Regions from separate parts of the Homo sapiens genome. Here region 2 is linked to region 1. Evidence: promoter capture Hi-C in 16 types of primary human blood cells and fetal thymus (Javierre and others, 2016). All regions are on one chromosome and are shown on one strand. Each heading gives the region's core, a stretch centred on a gene start or on the middle of the fragment in contact. The rest is flanking DNA. Distances are from core to core; before and after follow the strand shown. Region 1 holds the start of CXCL1 (C-X-C motif chemokine ligand 1). Region 2 overlaps ANKRD17-DT (ANKRD17 divergent transcript).

Region 1 (6,040 bases), core at 1-2,500:
CAATCCAGGTGGCCTCTGCAGCTGTGTCTCTCTTTCCTCTTCTGTTCCTATAAGGGCAGGGCCTCCTTCAGGAACAGCCACCAGTGAGCTTCCTCCTCCCTTCTGGTCAGTTGGATTTGTCACTGCAATGAGAAAATGGGTGCCCTGAGTAGGTGCTCGGGAAAGCTGATTGCACAACACTCTTCTCCTGCCCTGCTCCTCCAGCCTCTAGAGTTTTCCGAATGCAGTTTCCCCAGCCTGGCAACCAAGTGGCTACTGCCTATGACAGCTGTGCTGTGTGGCAGGGACCTCTAAGCTTGGGATGCTCTTTTAGGAATGGGGGTGGGGTGGGGCGGTGGTCTCCACTGTACTATTGGATTAAAAACAGCCAGAACCTGTTGCTGTTTGTCCTACTGGGCCTCAAATGAAGGCAGTTTTACCTACATTCATTGGAACGAAGGAAGAACCAGGGTGGGGACGCCAGGCATTGGGAATATCCTCTGGCACCAGAGCAGTAATTATCGTAAAGGAAACCTTAATTGTGAAAACAATAATCCCAATTTCTAGTCCTTCAACTAACCCCTGGGTTTTCCTGATTTTATTTTTAGGGGGCACATGCCAGTATTTCTGACCAACGGCTCCAGTCGCCTGTGTACATGGAAACCATAACTCACCTGTTCAGCATCTTTTCGATGATTTTCTTAACTATGGGGGATGCAGGATTGAGGCAAGCTTTCCGCCCATTCTTGAGTGTGGCTCTGCAGAGGGAAGGGAATCTCGTGAGGCAGGAGGTCGGGCTGGGGACAGGGTTGGGGCAGCAGGAGGGTCTGGGACCCCGGCGGTGGCAGAGGCAGCGCGGGGCGGGACTTACATGACTTCGGTTTGGGCGCAGTGGGGTCCGGGGGACTTCACGTTCACACTTTGGATGTTCTTGGGGTGAATTCCCTGCAGGGTCTGCAAGCACTGGCAGCGCAGTTCAGTGGCCACGGACGCTCCTAGGGAAGAAGAGACTCACTGACTGAGCGAGGCTGTCGGCGCTGGGTGCCTACCCCAGCCGCGTCCGGCCCGGGGACCCCAGGGCGCCGGTACCCACCTGCTGCGCGCCGGCCAGCGGCTACCAGGAGCAGGAGCAGCAGTGCCACTCGCAGGAGCCGGGGATTGCTGGGGGCGGCGGAGAGAGCAGCGCGGGCCATGGGGCTCAGCAGGCGGGTCTGGCGGCTGTGAGAGGAGCGGAAGAGCTGGCGAGGAGGTGCCTGCGGCCCGGGCTCTGTGGCTCTCCGAGATCCGCGAACCCCTTTTATGCATGGTTGGGGCTGGAAAGCCCGGAGCCCCCGGGCCAGGGAAATTCCCGGAGTTCCAGATCGATCCCGAGTCCGGAAGGAAGGCGACGGCCCCGCCCCCAGGGTGGAGCGCTTGGGGTGCGGGTGGGGTGTGGGGGTCCACTGATGCAGCCCGCGCCTCGCCCTTCAGAGTAACTCCTGTGGACTCTGAGACTCTGGGATATTCGCCTTCTGCCCCAGATCCCTGGAGGGGGGCTGAGTGGCAGCCTGCGCTGAAGATACCACCTGAGAGGTGGGATCTTGGGTGCCTGGTGATCCCAGTGTGTGGGGCTGGGAACGGAGAAGGAGCTGGGGCGGATCCCTGAGAACCACCACAGAGAAGGCGCGACCTCTTTGGAGGAAGAGCGTTGTGTCTCGGATTTGTGGCTGGAGATTGAGAGAAATTAACAAGGTGCTGGGAGATAGGCTGGAGCTATATTATCCTCTCTGCCTCAGCCTTTCTTATTTTCAGTTTAGCCTATTTCACGTACATCTAACATCAGTGCTGTCTGTGAAAGTACAGTCCATTATGTCAGATTCCAGAGAAGAATGTTCTGCTTGTTCCTTGTGTTGCATATTCTCTAACCACACTTAGAATATCTTGTTTACGTTTTCCATTTGGTGGCAACAGATTATCAGTGTCAAAAGCTGAATCCAGTGTTAGCGTCAGTGGAAGCCAGGGCTGTATAACATGAACTCTTCTTTCATATCCTGCTTATCTTCCTTCTTCCCTGTAAAATGTTGGAACTTTCAAAATCCCCTGGAAATCTTTTCCCTGTAGGAGGGGTTCAGGTTTGATCTAGAAATACGGCACTGGTTGTCACTCCGGACCTCGGAGGGGCTGGGTCCAGCAGGCTCATGGGCTCACCATTCCTGGTTCTGTCTTTGGACTGCATAGCACATGACACCAGGGAGTGGGTACCTGGTGTGCAAGCACCCTTCCCACTGAAGCAGCAGACATGCATTCGGATGAAATAGGAACGCCGGATCCCACATAGAGTCACATTCCATTTACTATAGGACTTCCTGGTATTCAGTATTGGGCCCCCTTTCTAGAGAAACACACACATGTTGTTTTCTCTCAGGAATTTCAGTCATTTAACCTGGTAGCTTTATTACTTTTTTCTCCAGAAGTTCTAGAGAACTTATTTTTATTCATCATTAGGTTTTTAGAGGGTTTAAGTGTGATTCTCCAAGTGGGATTCAGAGCTCTCTGAGACATGGAGTAAGATGGGAGGAGGGGGAAAAAGCAGAGGCTTCTGCCCCAGGGGCAGATGTCTCCACAACAGAGTTCTACACAGCCCAGCTCAATAGGTAAGACCTGTGTTCCTAGCCAAGCAGAGAACACAGGCAAGGCTGCCACCTGCATTTAGTAGTGAAGCATCGCCTGCAGATTGTTTAGCCTCTCCGTTTCTACCCCAAGGTGGTTATGAGAAATGAGTCAACATTTGTAAGAGCCAGCATGGATTTAAGTGCCTTATAAATGTTTGTTAAATATTTGTTTAAAAAAAAAATGGAAATAGCGTTTTCCAACATTGCCTAAACAGAAACTCATCCTGATGTGAATTTATATATATATTTATATATTTATATATATATATATATATATATATATATATATATATATAATGGAAAGGTTCACTCCCCAGTGTTTTTTACATTTAAAATTTTCTATATCAGTTACTGCTACCCAACTACCCCTAATGTATACAACACCATATACAGCAGTATGAGTCTTGAATAAATCAAGGCAGGTCCTGGAAGACAGAATGTTCATATAAACACCAAAAGCTCAGTTTCCAAAATGCCCTTTCGGTTACTCAGGGGTACTGGTGCTCTCATTACAGTAATCTTAGTCAAGGGTAGAAAGGTGTGCTAGAATGTTGTTTCTTTAAAACAGACACTGTAGATAGTATATGTACTCCAGTCTTTTTCAATTATTTCTCTTTTCACATCTTCCTGATTACTTATATTTCTTAACAGGAAGAATAAATGAAAAAGCATTGACCCAATGGAGACCAAATACAGTGTCCCAAATATCTTCATCAGTTTCAAGCTGTAATCAATGCTGCAAACTTCTAAATCTAAATTTTTTAAAAAAGAAACTCAGCTGAGAATTTACAAAAATTGAAATAAAATTTTCTGTATCAGGCTTTCAGAAAGGAAGACAAATATGTACTCTACCACGAGGTACACTTAGATGAAATTTTATTTGTTACCGTTCAGACAGATCATTGGTTTATTTTGTAGTCCACCTTTCAATCACTTCATGTATATAAAAAGGGACTTTGAATGTAATAGTCTTCATCTTATTTATTGAAAAGATGTACTAAAGGAATGACTATTTTTTAAAAAAACTCTAGTATTTATCAATATGACTCTAAGGGAAAAATCAAGAAAATTAGAGGAAGGTTCAAATTAGTAGTAAGGAATAGGAAATGACATATAATCTAAAGTTTATTAAGTGTGTGACTAGCTCATGCATAATTGAAAGTTTGAGTGATTACACCTCTTATTATCACTCTTTTTCTGGGATTTGATGGGAAACTGAAATTTCCAGAAACATGGAAATGATTCTTTAAAACTTGAAAAATGTATTGTTTTGTTTTCTAATTGTAGTTGTAATATATGCTCATTTTATAAAGTTTATACAAACCAAAAAGGCAAGAAGAGATTTTTCTTCTCTAATGTCTCTTCACTTTGTCTATGAAACAAACATTCACAGGTCGCTGAAAATTTGCTTTTTTTTCTTCAACAAAGGAGCTAAATTATAAGAGCTTACAGAATTCTGGTAAATAAAAAATATGCTGCTTCCTTGATTATGCTGCTGCATACCAAGGGCAAATTGCTAAACCTCTACACCCGAGGCAAAGGGCAGAGCATTTATTTTCTGCTCTTCTAAGCAGTTTACAAATATTAACTCATTCAGTCTTCCAAACAAGCCTGTGCTTGTACTGATAACTACAGTATCAGTAGATATTGTTGTGTCTATGAGATTTTAAGTTGCAAATAAAGAAACTGTGGTGCAGAGAGGTTAAGTCACTTGCCTAAGGTCATACATCCTTGAGCCTGGAAATCAAAGTCAGATAAAATGGCATTTAACTATTATACTATGATAAAAACACTCTGTGATATATAATTAATACTTTCAAGAGTAGAATGATTTTAAAAAATCTGTTATTGCCCTAGTTGAATGGTTCAAATTTACATATTCTTAAATGAAAACACAGCAAAATGGTCACACATCTCTATAATTTTGTTTCACTAACAGCATATCTTTCCTGTGGCATTGAAATAGCTTGTTATATTTTCCTGAAGTACACAATTCTGAAAAATAAAATAGTAACTTTGCCATGAGAAAACCTGGTAAACTCGCCCTATACCAAATGAGGAAGATTTACGTCATCAGTGTGATGTCATGTGCATATCATGTACCCCCTTGATATGATGTCACAAGAACAGCATACCTCTTTGGTGCTCTTTCAAAAATTAATAGCCCAAGTCTAATCATGAGAAAAGCATGCTTCAAACCTAAATCAAAGAATCTTAAATGGCTGAGTGGTACTCTTCAAAATTGTCAATGTCATGAAAAATAAGGGCAGATTGAAGAACCATCACAGTCCAGAGGAAATTATGGAGATATGACAATCCACTGCAGTGTGGTACTTTGGTTTGCATTCTGAAACAGAAAGAGGATGTTAACGGAAAAACTGGCAAAACCCAAATAAAATCTGCAGTTCAGTTAAAAGTAATGTGTCAGCGGTGGTTTCTTAGCTTTGACGACTATACCATGATATTGTAAAATGTTCACTTTAAAGGAAAGTGGGTGAAAGATACACAGATACTGTATTGACTTTGCAACTTTTATAAACTTAAAATTATTTCAAAATAATTTTTTTATTTTTTAGTTTCTTTTTTTAAAATAGTTTATTTTTTAAAAAGTTTCTCTTTCTGAATTCATTTAGAATGCCACCAAAATTAAATGGCCATGCGTGTTTCATCTGCTAGCTTTTAGAGAGGAAACTGAATTTTCGTTTAGTGCCTGTTTGTTCAAATATGAAAATCCAAAATATCTACTGCCGAGTTTGGACACTTCATCATGTTTCATAGGATTAAATAGTTTGCCTTCATCATTAATCACGCTGCCCAAATCTCTCATCTAGTTCTGGTAACTGGAGAAAAACACAAGTGTTTCTGCTGTAATCATCTCAGGACCCAACCCAAAACTGACGCAATGAGAGCGCTCAGGGGGAGCAGAGCTCCACAGGAGCTGCCAAGAGAATGAAGCGAATTAAGCATGTCAAGAAGCAGTGGGCATCCGCAGATTAGACAGAACTTGACTCAGGAAAATTTTCATCAAAATCACATTTTGTGTAAATGAATTGGAATGGAAAGAATTTTTTGTTGTTATTTCCTCCTTAATATGCCACTTGTATCAATGAAATCCGCATAAACCAAAATTCAAAATTTATAAGCACAGGAATGCTGTAGCCTGGAAAAATAAACAAATTCATTGTCTTGTTGGAACAAATGTTCCTCCAAGCTAATTTTTTTCAAGAGTTGAATGACGGGATTTTACGCAGTCTTTAAACGTATGCAAGCAACAATTCTTAAAGAAATGGAGGAACCTTTAAAAATGGAAGCTTTGGTAGCTAAATTCCATTTTGCCTGGAATCACTATTGAAACTTTCATAATTAGCAGTCAAATCTGGGAGCTCATGTTTTCTAGACCTGTTTATCTG
Region 2 (5,992 bases), core at 740-3,239, 560 kb after region 1:
AAGGGTGCCCTCAAGAGGCATTCCTAATTCATTTGTTTTCTACTTTTTCTTTCTTTTTTTTTTCTTTTTTCTTTTTTTTTCTTTTTTTTGAGACAGTGTCTTGTTTTGTTGCCTAAGCTGGAAGGCAATGTCACAATCTTGGCTCACTGCAACCTCAACCTCCTGGGCTCAAGTGATCCTCCTGCCTCAGCTTCTCAAGTAGCTGAGACCACAGGTACAAGCCACCATGCCCAGCTAATTTTATATTTTTCATAGAGATGGGGGACTTGCTATGTTGCCTAGGCTGGTCTCAAACTCCTGGCCTCAAGCAATCCTCCTGCTTCGGCCTCCCAAAGTGCTGGGATTATAGGTATGAGCCACAATGCCCATGTAATGTATTTCTTGTTGTTGCTTATTGGGCAGCTACCTGAGCCACAGGTAGCTCAGAAAGACTCTCAAATTGTTTGTTTGTTTTTTAAAACAGAAACAAGGTTTTACTATATTGTCCAAACTGACCTCAAGCTCTTGGCCTCAAGTGATCCTGCTGCTTTGGCCTCCTAAAGTGCTGGGATTACAGAAGTGGGCCACTGCACCCAGACTACTGTCTAATCTATTTCTAACAGATTTGGTGAAGAGGTTATCTCTTGAACCCTCTTGAGGGATTTTATTAGGAGTGAGGAGAGCAGAATGCAAACAACAAATTAATCCACTACTTCTACCTTAAGATTTCTACCCAAGTCTTTTAACTCTTGTATTAATATCTTTTCTTCTCTAGAGCAGGTCCATTTCTGTTCATATGAGCTATGGTCTGGATTTCAGTCAACCAAACAAGAAAACAATTAAAACTACTCCCATATGTTTAAGCTAGGATATTAAAAGACTAATTTCTGACAAGGTTACCCATACTGGTAACTTCAGTTACGTCTTAAAATACATTCCTCCCTTATTTATATGTATACATTAACCAAATCTTCTTTTCATCACTGAACTAAAATAATATTTTTCTTAAACTATTTTAAAGTACAAGCTTTATCATCCTGGGGGTTATGCTATAATATCACTCCCCTAATACAAGTTCAAGCTGAGGATCTGGTTTTCATTATTGGTCTAGACATAATAAGTGTTAAGAGTAGAGCAAGAAGAGGACTGGCTTCCTCCTGCAATATGACTTCCTTACGTAAAGTTGTGACAGGGTTGTAAAGCAAGGTAAGAACAATCTCATGAGTCAAATGAAGGTAAGCGCTCCTGGAGGCAAGGGAGTCTCTATGAAGAGGAATCAGTATTTTCTGAGTCAATCAAATTAAATCCTTTCATGTATCCCATTTTAGTTTGGGGGGACACTACTCTTTCATTATCAAACTCTTACTTTCACATACTACACAAGACTGTGAATTCAGCTGAGTTTGGAATTTGGAAACCTATATAATTAAACTTTGAATTTGATCTTTGACTATCTCAACCCTGTGGCTGCAAGAAAGGAGATATTCTTTTAGCTGGTTTTCAATCTATGCCCTAAATTAGAATTTTGAGAATGTCATTCCTTTTTTATTTAGCTGTTCAGCGTCTTTAGAAACAACACCTCCAGCCCATTCCTGATACCAATTTATAAGAGTCAGGATTTTTAGCTAGAAACAAAAAATAACCAAGTTCAACTGATGAAGCAGAATAGGACATTATTACAAGGATTTGGGGGTAGTTCATAGAATCATTAGGAATCCTAGACAATTAGGGACAGGGCTTTGCACCAAAAACTATGCTCAAAATCACACCATAGAAATGATCTAATGAGAACCCCACTGTGGCCTTCACCAAACAAAAGTTGTTGCAACCTGCACTGCACACAGAACTGGCTCTGTGTACTAAATGCCACTAATAGCATAGCTTCCATTACTGATACAAAGTTTAGTCCTGCTGCAACAATCAACACAGCTGTGCAGAGTCCTCTCTTCTGATGCATTGGCTCTCAATTTCAAGCAGAGAAACAAGACCATGTGCCCACATCCTAGGTGCAAAGGAAGCTCACGAAGCAAGTATTTGGCATTTTCAGTGTTTATAGTGGAAAACAGGGTCGGCCTCCCACCATACTCATAAAATGGAAAGTTCCCAAAACATAGGCATATTAGTTGACGAGCAGCCAAAATGAATGACAAATGTCAAGTGTGATTAAAATTGTGTGCACCATATGTACCCTATTATGCATAAATTTGATCTCTAGAATTTCTAATGCAATTCTCACACACGTGCAAGACAAAAACAAAGACTTTTTTGAAGCATTGTATGTAAAAGCAAACATGTGAAAAGAAATCAAATGTCATCGGTAGAGGATTAGATAAATAGCTTGTGATATGCTAATATGATTTTTTTTATTTAGGTATTGAGAAACTGAGAGTTTTATATATGATTTTTTTTTTTTTTCTGAGGCGAAGTCTCGCTCTGTTGCCCAGGCTGGAGTGCAGTGGTGCAATCTCAGCTCACTGCAAGCTCCACCTCCTGGGTCCATGCCATCCCCCTGCCTCAGCCTCCTGAGTAGCTGGGACTACAGGCGCCCTCCACCACACCCGGTTAATTTTTTTTGAATTTATTTTTAGTAGAGACGGGGTTTCACCGTGTTAGCTAGGATGGTCTCGATCTCCTGACCTCGTGATCCGCCCGCCTCGGCCTCCCAAAGTGCTAGGATTACAGGCATGAGCCACCGCGGCCGGCTCCATATATGAATTTTTAAAAGACTGCCTTTGAAGTGCTCCCAAAGGAGAGTGAAGATAAACACAAATGTATATCATTAGGACATGTATAATGTATCAAAGCCTCAAATGGTATGGGACTGAGGTGGTACTGTTAGAAGAATCTGCCTGTGCTTGTGGAAGGGACATCACAGAGGAAAAAGATACATATGTAAGTTAGGATTTAAAAGATACACAGGAATGTATGATGTAAAAGAGGAGGGGTACATTCCAGGCAATACAAATTATGTTTTTAAAGTCACTAAAGCTTGTTATAGCACACTATTTTTCTGAAAAGTAAGTGTTTGTCATGTTTGATATTAAACAAACAGGACTTCATGGCAGTGTTGTAGCATGAGGGAGGACCTCCAGGAAGAAATTTTAAGTTTCTAGGAACTTCCCTTCAACCTCAAACTAAAGTAAAACAAAAATTAAATGAAATAGCAGATAACACTCCAATTTTTGTCCCACTTGAAACTGCTATGGTCACATTACATCATGTCACTGAAAAATCTTCCTACAAATAACAGTTATATTTGGCAAATCAAAGATAAATAATTTCTTCACAGAAAACTAGTCACTAATACTGTGGAGTTACTTTTCCACCTTAAGTAAAAAGAAAAACAAAATTTGCAAATATTGCCATCTAGTGGCTTCAAACTGAAAAAAAATTAACTATACTTTATGTGAATCATTCAACCATGTTTCCTAGGAAAAGTTTCCTTAGCAGTTCTTAAATAAACAAATATTACATTTGTGTCTCTGCTTGAAAAGAAAGGGCTCAATTTAGGCTACTAGGCTTCAAACTTTTGCTTCATCATTTACTAGCTGGATGACCACAGGCAAGTTGCTTAATCTCTGTAAAATGCACATAATAATAGTACCTACCTGCCAGAGTTGTTAAGAAGAATTAACGAGAAGATCGTAATACAGTTGTTTAGTGCAGCATGTCACTCATATTATACACCCAATGGGTAGTAATAATTATATTGCTTAAGGGGGAAAGAGTTGCAAAACGTAGGTTGTTAGATTGAAGTTTGAGTGACACAGCATTTAAAATGACAGTACTTTTGTTGGCAGTTTGGGTTAGAGCATTATACTTTTTTTTTTGAAGTAGTAGAAACATTGTAATGGTATATTGTTGCTATCTAGATAGCAGCTATCAATAACTGGTATTCTCTAATTTTGAAAGATCCTTGAATCAAATTATGATTGCGATTTACTGTTACAATATTTGTAAAGTCCAATTCATCCCTGATTTGATCTCTTAAGAAAATATACATCTTTCTATAAAAGCATATATGGAAGTGGAGGAAAAGGCAGCTTTACCAGTTGGTTAAAAAAATTGAGGCTCATATAGGATGCAAACAGTCTTAAAACTTCCTGTCATGGAGACAAGGCAGATAAAACTGGTTCTCTCTATTTATGACATTATTTGAGCTATAGTACTGCTATGACTTATTTTATTCTTCAAGACAGTCCTTGAGACTCAGTTTAACTTAATTTCACCTGTCCAGTGAAGCAGAAACAGCATGATTGTTAAAATGAATTTGACAAAAATGTCTCTTAAGATTTCCAAGGATATGATGACAAAATGTTTATGATAGCACCACTGAGAATTTGCAGTTAGGCAATCAGCAATATTCATAGTATTAATGGACTGGAATCAATCTTGGGGGAAAAAAAGCATGCCACAAAAGTCAGTCATGAACACCCCTTCTTGGATGTTTTTATCAAAAACTTGGACAAATTGAAAACTTGTTTCTTCTAAGTTGTATAATATTTTGGGTGGATAGGTTTTGTAGGCAGCCTTTAAGATGGCTCCAGTCATTCTTGCCATTCCAGTATTCACACCTTTGTGAAATCCCCTCCCCTTGTGTGTGAACTGCACCTAGGAACTCACTTCTAATCAATATAATGCAGCATGAGTGATGGGCGTCACTTCTGAAATTAGGTTACAAAAAGTCTGTGGCTTCCATCTTGCAAGTTCTTTTTTCTTCCTCTTGCTGACCAACTGTGATGTAATCTAGTTACCAAGTTGTGAACTGCCCACCTGGCAAGGAAGCAAGGGGGGACCTCTGGCCAACAGTCCGTTAGGGACTGTATCCTGCCAATAACTACATGAGAAACTCAGAAGCAGATTCTATTTCAGTCAAGTCTTCTGATGAGACTGCAGCCCAAGCCAACTGCTTTATTATATCCTGGGAAAGAACTCAAGGCAGAGGTACCCAGACAAATCAATGCCGTGGATTCCAGAACCACAATTTAGATAAAATATTTTGTATTTTAAGCCACTAAATGGTAGGGCTATTTGTTACACAGCAACAGATAACTAATACAGTTCACCAGAGGTTGGCAAATTACAACCTGTGGGCCAGATCTGGTCTGAGGCTTGTCATTGTATGGCCCTTGAGCTAAGAATGGTTTTTACAACTAAAAGAATTGTTTGTATTTTATTTAATAAAAGAAAAGGAATACTATATAAAAAAGATCCATAGCCCACAAAGCCTAACATATTTACTAGCTTTTTACAGAGAAAGTTTTATAATTCCTGCAGTAAATAATATGACCAATGACAGCCAAGATTCAAAATGATTGCCTCAACTGACTAGAATAAAGAAGTGAAGTAAATGAGATAAAACTTGGCAGTCATTAATAAAAAGTTCCATTCTTAGGTTCAAAAATTCAATCTCAGAGTTATAGGATAACGATTATGTGACAAAGATTGGCAGATTTTAGTGGATTCCAGGCTCACAAAGAACTAAAATATAATGTGATGCTTAAAATAAAAGTTAATATAATCTAACTTTGCATTAACATCCAGCTGATAAAAGAATGTTAGCTCAAGACTATCTATATGAGTCAGAGCATATGTGAAGTATTTTAACATGAATCATTTAAAAACTGTTTAGAGACAGTGGAAACGGTTTTTGTATAAGGCTCCTCAAATGTATTTCCTTAACTTATTGCAAAATGCATTTTTTTTCCATCAACTTGGTAGGTGAAACCACTGGTATCCAAAATTATGCATTTTATCGGTAGCAATCTCTGTATTTTTAAACTCAGCTCTTCCTTTGATACCTATTTGTGTTTTACAACAGGTTTATATTTTTCTTTCTTTTTGTTTTCTTTACATGTATTCCCAAAAAAGTAGGGGTAAAGGAAAGACAACCAAGGACGTGCATGTATTTGAGAATGGAGGTGGGAGGTTGGTATATTTAAGAGTGTTTTGTCCTACATATCTTCTTTAATCTCTTGAGATTTGGTCTATCTCTGTCTATTTATGTTGGCCT

What was found. The method cuts DNA at HindIII sites, captures the fragments that hold promoters and counts their contacts. A CHiCAGO score of 5 or more calls a contact.
Region 2: a contact is called between a fragment that was not itself captured here and the fragment with the promoter of CXCL1 in region 1, in 1 of 17 cell types (fetal thymus). The highest score is 5.3, in fetal thymus.

The regions. Positions count from the first base shown.
Region 1 is chr4:73,864,603-73,870,642 of GRCh38, reverse strand. It overlaps CXCL1 (C-X-C motif chemokine ligand 1), which reads right to left and starts at 1,250. Exons shown (of 4, transcript NM_001511.4): 1 at 1,073-1,250; 2 at 851-974; 3 at 654-737; 4 at 1-122. The coding sequence starts at 1,172. The coding sequence ends at 107. The HindIII fragment of the contact is 5,230 bases long and covers 714-5,943 here.
Region 2 is chr4:73,309,024-73,315,015 of GRCh38, reverse strand. All of the region lies in intron 3 of ANKRD17-DT (ANKRD17 divergent transcript), which reads right to left. Among named protein-coding and RNA genes, the nearest start is that of ANKRD17-DT, 53 kb to the right of the region's middle. The HindIII fragment of the contact is 1,961 bases long and covers 1,009-2,969 here.